Regions from separate parts of the Homo sapiens genome. Here region 2 is linked to region 1. Evidence: promoter capture Hi-C in human tissues and cell types (Jung and others, 2019). All regions are on one chromosome and are shown on one strand. Each heading gives the region's core, a stretch centred on a gene start or on the middle of the fragment in contact. The rest is flanking DNA. Distances are from core to core; before and after follow the strand shown.

What was found. Contacts are between HindIII fragments. The study calls those that stand out against the background at their distance.
Region 2: a fragment that was not itself captured here is called in contact with the fragment with the promoter of CD8B in region 1 in 1 of the 25 tissues and cell types used here (psoas muscle).

What each region holds. Positions count from the first base shown.
Region 1 is chr2:86,860,035-86,864,030 of GRCh38, forward strand. CD8B (CD8 subunit beta) reads right to left here and starts at 1,852. Exons shown (of 6, transcript NM_004931.5): 1 at 1,789-1,852. The coding sequence starts at 1,831. It also overlaps the pseudogene ANAPC1P1. The HindIII fragment of the contact is 19,466 bases long and covers 1-3,996 here.
Region 2 is chr2:86,824,454-86,828,449 of GRCh38, forward strand. It overlaps a transcript of CD8B not described here. Among named protein-coding and RNA genes, the nearest start is that of CD8B, 35 kb to the right of the region's middle. The HindIII fragment of the contact is 8,744 bases long and covers 1-3,996 here.

The sequences.
Region 1 (3,996 bases), core at 602-3,101:
CGAGGCAGGAGGATCACTTGGGCTCAGGATATCGAGACCAGCCTGGGCAACATAGTGAGACCTTGTCTCTACTAAGAATACAAAAATTATCCAGGCATGATGGCGCGTGCCTCTAATCCCAGCTACTAGGGAGGCTGAGGCAGGAGAATCGCTTGAACCCGGGAGGCGGAGATTGCAGTGAGCCAAGATTGCGCCACTGCACTCCAGCCTGGGCGACAGAGCAAGACTCCATCTTGGAAAAGAAAAAATTATTAAAAAATAAAAATAAAAATAAAAACAAGAAGGAAATGATGCCTGGGGCACAAGTGGCTGCTGGACTTCCTCTTGTTTCCCCAAACACCACACTGCGGTTCCAGCAGAGCAGAGGTTTTTCCTTGCTTTGGGTCACTCACTTCTTGGGGGAGTTAATAAGAACCAATAATGCCAGTTTATTGAGCTGTGCCTGGCATGGCGCATACATTATCTCATTTGATCCTCACCAAATCCTGTGGGGGAGATACTGTTTTGCACCTACTTTACCCATGAGGAAAGAGAGACTCAGGAGGGTTAAAGATGTGCTCAAGGTCACACAGTGATCCAGATTAAAACCCAGCTTGTGGGACCCCAAAACCTGACTTTGAACCACTGAATTGAAGAAACCTGCAATCCTCTCCCTGATGGTGGTTATGTGCTCACGAGCACACAGTGGGGCTGCAAGTACACAGGTGCCCGAAGCCCTTCCGGGAAAACCCAGAAGCGACTCCTGTAAGAGCAAGGCCTGGGCTGTGAGTGTGCATTTCCTCTCCTGGCTGAGACACACCCCGGCTCTTCCCGGGGCCCACTTGCTTTTTGTCCCCTAGGAACTGAATACTCCGGGCTGTGGCCAAGGCCCTGCTGTGTGCTGGACATGGAGCCAGGCCTCACTGCATGTTCCCCTCGGTAACCCAGGAATTCCATTCTCAGAGGGACCTGATGTTTCTAGATCCATCAGTAATGACTTTAGTGCTCTGAACGGCCTGGGCTGTTTCTATTTATGATGTTGCACTCACTGGGCCAGAACCCCCGGCGGGCAGGCCTTGTCACCCCCTGGCAAGATGACCAGCTTTGGGCTTTTTGGGCACGAGAGCAAATCGACCAGTTTGGGTAGTTTTCCGGGTGTGTGGAGGCTTCTTCCAAAAGGCAGTCTGGCTGGGCTTATTCAGAAGGACAATCCAGATGCCCCATCCAACTCCAACAACCCAACCTCCAGGCTGCTTCCTAGGGAGCCACGCTACCCATGACACCCAACACCAGCGACATCAGGGAGAACGGGAGCCAGAGGGATCACCCTGCCCTAGCCCTCCGAGAACTGAGAACGCCCGATGTTTGTCTGATTGTACTACAAACACTTCCCCGGAAGTAATAAAAATGTGTCCACAGGACCCATGGCCTGGCCAACCTTCCTCCGAGCACATCCTGCGGGGACCCTGGGCAGGGACCTGTTTCCTTCCCCTGGTGACCTCCAGCGACCCTCTCTTTCCTTCCCTCACTCGCTCCCCTTTTCACTGCCTCCCCTTCTCCTGCGTCCAGGCTTTTGAGGGGAGGTGGCCTCAGTCCAGGGGCTCTCCGGTCCCCCGGGGTAATGCGATATGGGGGTATTTTATTTCCACCCTTAGGGACCGTGCCTGCCAAGCTGCCTCCCGGGCGCCCCGCCACCGCGGGCTCGACGCTGCACCCTGCCAGGACCAGGGCCAGGACAGCCACTTATCACCTCCCCGCTCAGGCCCCGGGAGCGCAGACCCTTGGGTAGCCCGCGCGCCGCCGCCTTACCTGTCAGCTGCGCGGCCAAGAGGAGCCACAGCCGCGGCCGCATCGTGGCGCGCCCGGGACACCTGGCCCCGGGGGCTCGGCGGAGACAGTCGCGGCTGGGGTGGGTGAGGAGCTGGCCGGGCGGGGCGCCTGGGTCGGGGAGCTGGGGGGGCAGTGGGGAGGGCGGGACCGGGCGCGGTGGCGGCGGGAGTCTGGTGTTGGGGACCGCGAGGTCTCCGCCCTCATCCTCCTAGCATTGCAAAGGTCTGGGCTGCGTTTCCAGAGCCCACCAGGACCCTCCGCTTTCCAGAAAGGAGGGGACACCGCCGGCCTCCCCCAGGCAGCTGCATGTGTGTCATCGCCCCCTGCCCCGGGAGGTGCTCAGGAAAGGGTTGTGACCCCGAGTGACAGTAGAGGCTCAGAGAGGTCAGGATGTGTAGTGCATGGTGGAGCTGGCCACTAACTCGGGCCGCTTCTTGTCTTGTTTGAGTAGCAATTGAGGGGCTCCTGGGTGCCCCGGGCTGGGCTGGGCCTGGAGTCAGCAAGCCCCAAGTCTTGCCCTCCCTTGCCAGGGAGGAAGGAAAGGTAACCGGCTGTGACACTGAGGGAGGTGAGCTGGGAACTGGAGGTGCAGAGAAGGCCCCGACGCTGTTTGTAGGTTGTGGGGGTGCAGCAAGACCTAGATCTTAAGAATTTCGAAGGACTGTGACGATCACCGGCTGCGCCCTGCCGGCGAGTGCCCTGGGGCTGGCTCTATTTGTTGCGCGATCCAGCCCTGGTGGGGAGATTTGTGAGGGGAGACCTGGCTCAGGCTGTGTCTTCCTGTTCAAACGGGGGTTAGTAGAGAGGGGGTTGGGGAGGTCCAGGGAGAACTGGGCATGCAGCCTGCAGGGGAGAGGGACCCCTTGGAGGGCTGCGGGAGAGGCTCCTTGTAAATGTCAACAAAGACCCAGCCAGGCAGGTCCATGGGTTACCCTAAGAGCTTAGAGTTTATCGGAGAGGAAATGGCGTGTCCCCTGAGATCTAAAGCAGGCAGCCGGGCAAGGACACTGTCACATTTGGTCTCCACATCCAGTATTCTTTCCATCCCACTCTTGCCCCAGCCCCTCTGCCCATTGCTGGTGACAGCATTGCTCATGGCTGAGTTGGGTGCAGAGAGTTCAAAGGCACTGGGGGAAAAGAAGTCACTCAGCCCAGCCAGAGGCCAGAGTCTCGCTGGATACTGCCTTGGCTCCCATACAATGTGTGGTCTTTAGCGAATGGCTTCTTTGACTCAGCGCAATGTTTTTCAGGTTCATCCCCATTATAGCACCATTTCTTCTTATTGTTGAGTAATATTTTGTGTATGTACCTGTATATACCACATTTTCTTTATCTGTTCATCTAATGATGGACATTTGAGTGGGCTACTATATCTACTTTTTGACTTTTGTGAGTAATGCTACTGTGAACATTCTTGTACAAATATATGTTTGGGTGCCTGTTTTCAATTCTTTCAGGTATGTACTCAGGCAGTGCAATTGCTGGGTCATACAATAATTCTATGTTTAACTTTTTGAGGGACTAACCAACTGATTTCCATAGCAGCTGTGACCATTTACATTTCTGCCAACAATGAAAGGGTTCCAATTTCCCCACATCATCGCCAACACTTGTTATTTTCTGTTTTTGTTTTGTTCCATCCTAGTGGGTGTGAAGTGATATCTCATTGTGGTTTGGATTTGTACTTCCTGAATGAGAAATGATGTTAAGCATCAATTCATGTGCTTGTTGGCCATTTGTATTTCTTCTTTGTATGTGTATTCAAAGTATTTGTTGTTTAGAAAACACAAGCTACCTCTTTCTATCCACTCTCTCATGGGCGCCACAGCATTGCAAAAGGAACAACTTTCTCAGTAAATGATTAAAAGTTACTCACTGCTTTGTCAGGTATTGTCTAAAATCATAGACAGGGAACCCCTGGATGCATTAGTTATGGAAACTCTTGCGTCTGTGATAAATTAACCTCTAAATATTAGTGGTTTAACTCAATACAAATCCCCTGCATTGTTCTGTGACATTCAAGTGCAGTTGTGCCAGGGAGTAAGGAGTATTTGCTCCACTCAGTCCTGCAGGGGACCAGGGTCTTTCCCCCATCTTCAACTCATGGCTCCAGAGATCACTGTGCAAAGGGAAAAGAGGATGACTGCCTTCACCAGGGCAGTGTAGGGGGTGCTGGGGCTGGGTACC
Region 2 (3,996 bases), core at 676-3,175, 36 kb before region 1:
AAGAAGCCACGTGCTCCAGGCCAAAGAGCAGCTAAGGGAATGAAGAGTAAATCTGTGATTGAATGAATGAGCAGATGAAAAGAGAAAAAGCCTCCCCCTGCACAAACCTGCAACCCATTCCCTTCCTGGGGTCCTGTGGGGAGGGGGCTTTTCATCAGTGCCCTGGGTCAGGGAAGAGAGAGGGAGGCCTTGTGGTGGAGGGAAGGGGAGGAGAGCTCACCATCAGAGGTGGAAAGAAGGTTCTAGTCCCTCCAGAGCACACTCAGGGATGCTTTCTTGTGCTTCTGTCCCAAGGCCTTGTCTCGACCTTGCTTACTATAAACACAGTGCTACATCCTGCTTTTCCTTTACTTCATTGCATAAACCTTCCCTGAATCGCTTCCAGAATCTTTAGAACCACCGTTTTTAAGGTTTGAATACTTGTATACCAAGTAAATGACCACAGCTTATTGAAACTCCTCTTTATAGTCAACCACTTAGGTTGTTCTATTGTTATTTCTAGAACACATAACTAATGCCAATAAATAATGATGATGGCACAGATTAGTATTTCCTGAGGATGGATCTCTTGCGTGGGTTCCAAAGCTCTAAGCAATTTATATGGGCCCTGGAGTTTCCTCCACAGCTCCTAAGGCAGCTCTGGCACATGAGGAGGCTGGGAAAAGAGCAGGGGTGATGGGTGCATCTGCCTTGGTAAGTGAACTTGTTGGTTCTGTCCCACGCAGCTTGGGTGTCGGTGTGGGGGGTGTGCTGCTGGGGTTGGAGAGGGGCCGCCCTACATAACGTCCCCACATAAAAGGGGCAGGTGTGCAGGTGGTCCCAGGGATGGCGGCAGCTCTGTCTGACTCCCCCCTACTGGGGGGCTATGGGGGCTGTGGGAGTGGAGGGTGAGGATCACCGTCCTCCAGGATCCCCCAACCCCTCCTTGGCCATTCCCTTTGACTTCCTTGGGAAAGAGTCCAGGCTTCAGAGGATTCTTTGCTCATTTCAATCTGACCCCATTTGAATCCCCAAGGGTCGCAGTAAACCCCAGGCACACAAAGACAGAGGCTTGTGGCTGGCTTGCGGTTGCTGTGATCACGATGGAATCAGACAACGGCTGCCCTGGCAGGCAGCACCCAGGCACCTCTCAGGTGGGAAAAGACTGAGCCAGGTGAATGTCCCAGAGCTCCAGCCAGCTCAGGCTCCTATGGGTGATAACTGCACTAGACACCTCTCCGAAGAAGCCAACAGAAACTGCATGCAGCGGCAACATGAGCAAAGATAAGTGTTGGGACCCGTTCTTCGCTGCCACCTCCAAGTCTGAACAGCAGGCTCTAAGGGGGGCATGGGAGCCCCTCAGAAAGGGCCACTGCCCATGCCTCACCTCCTGCCCGCCACTCCACTCTTTATTGTCCTACCTGACTGTAACAGGCTGCATGCTCAACATGGTGTCAGCTGCCCCAAAGAGCACCAGGAGGAGACAGGGGTGCCATTCGGACATGAACAGGAGCTCCTACCTGAATGTGCAGACCTCCGCCACTGGAGCTCTCGGGGGGAAAACATCCATGACAGCCTCCCTGAGCCTTGAAACATTTGCAGACCAAGCAGGCTCAGGTGCCCGTGTTTGCAGGCGGTTTTTTAGAACGTATCATTTGTCTTATATTGATGTACCCTTCAAAGCCCGGGAGGAAGTGTGGTCTTGTGGGGAGCTCTGTGCAGGCAACATGAGAGTCTGTATTGTCTTCCTAGCTCTGCCCCGGTTGTCAGAGGAGTCCATCTGGGCCACAGGGGTGAGGAGCCGTCACCCCTGCCTTTTGTTTAGCCGGTGACACCTCCCCAGTTGTGTGGCGGGTGATGCAGCAATAATGCCCACGAGCTCCTCTCAACAATCAAAACAAAACAGAGAGCCACTCTAAAACAGTGGCTTTCTTGCAAATGGAATATGCTGAGAATCTGTGACATGTGCAGGTCGGTAAGTGAGAAGGAAACAGGAACCACCAATCGATTCTGACAATGTAGAAAGCAGTGGAGGTTTGGGGCCAGGAGAACAAAAGACCTATGGGAGAGGCGGTGACCCAGGAAGGGTGGCCATGGACTTGGGTGCATCACCTGAGCCCTGTCACTTGGAAAGAACCCTAACGACCATCTTAATCCTGCCTGTATAGATACCTTACTGTGCCGCTGCTGGGTGTGAAGCGTGGCTACTAAAAATGTTCACTTCATTTTTAAGAAGTAGAACAGGTTCAAGGTTATTCCTGTAGACGACAGTGTCGCTCTCGCCCAAGTACACTGTGGGAGGCTTCCTTAGCAGGATCGAAAGGGGTGGAATTACAGTGGGCACTGGAATTGGCTGTGGTTCACACATGTAGACATGACTGTGAATTTCTTGTTTTTTTTTTTTTTTGAGACGGGGTCTCACTCTGTCACCCAGGCTGGAGTGCAGTGGCATGATCTCGGCTCACTGCAACCTCTGCCTCTCGGGTTCAAGCGATTCTCCTGCTTCAGTCTCCTGAGTAGCTGGAATTATAGGCACCTGCCACCACACCCAGCAATTTTTGTATTTTTAGTAGAGAGAGGGTTTCACCATGTTGGCCAGGCTGGTCTCCAACTCCTGACCTCAGGTGATCCACTCGCCTCGGCCTCCCAGAGTGTGAGGATTACAGGCATGAGCCACTGTGCCTGGCTGACTGTGGATTTTGTGGCAGCAAAGAGTTCATCTTGGTTCATCAGCTAAGACTGTGCTCAAGTGTAAGCCACTGAGTAGACTTGTTTATGAGTGATTCTTGGAAGCTTGCAAGGACTTCTTTTGAGTTAAAAAAAAAAAAACCTTCTGGTAGAGTTAAACATGAATTGGCTTGCCCTGAGAGTTCGGGTTTTATGTCACGAGAGGTAGTTAAATGTGGGCTGGGGGCCTGGTGTGGTGGCTAATGCCTGTAATCCCAACACATTGGTAGACTGAGGTGGGTGGATTGCTTGAGCCCAGATTGAGACCAGCCTGGCCAACATGGTGAAACCCCATCTCCACAAAAGTTAAAAAAATTAGCCAGGCATGGTGGCATGTGCCTGTGGTCCCAGCTACTCACGAGCTAAGTGGGAAGATCACTGGAGCCCAGGAGGCAGAGATTGCAGTGAGCCGAGAGGGCACCACTGCACTCCAGCCTGGGTCACAGAGCAAGACCCTATCTCAAAAAAAAAAAAAAAAATGTGGGGTAGACAAATATGGGGCAGGGTTGCTGTAAAGGGTGTTCACGTTTTATTTTGGAAGCTGAATAATGTAGACTTTAAATTGTTTTTGCAACATAGAGATCTACAGCTCTGGACTAATGGATCAGATTTTGCTAGTTGCAAAGATTTTTGAATTTTAATTGCAGTTTGCTGCTGTTTCACCCACAACAAAAGTAGAGGAAGAACTCATAGCTTATATGCAGTGATCATGAACTCTGGGGCTTTGTAGATGAGACTAGGAAAACTTGTGCAGGACCTGAAGTTGAACTGCCTTGGCTCTTGTTCCCATGTGCTGGGGGATGGGGCAAGGACATCTCACCAGGTATCAGTGGGTGGTCTACACTATTTGAGTAAAGTCCTATCCTTATAGTGTTGCTTTCCTGCCTGGTGACTTGACTGAGTTTAGGCTTAGCGACCTGCTTATAAAATGGCAAGAGTACGTACTTGCATAAGCGGTTAATTGACATAATGCAGGTAAATGGAACAGTACCAAACGCTTAATAACAAATGCTTAATAAATGAAGATGGTGGCTGGCAAGTGGGGGCGAATGTCAATAAACAACATGTAAAAATATGGATCATCTGGTCACTTTAAACTTTTAGTGAGATCAAATGTGGGCAAAATTTCTCTACAAATAACTGGAATTGTGTGTGTGTGTGTGTGTGTGTGTGTGTGTGCGTGTCTGGACCCACAGAGAAGTTTTTAATGTAGATATATAAAGTAGATAATCTCATTTATATTTTGGAAAATTTTAATTTTTAAAAATTTTTGTTATTTGATGATGATGA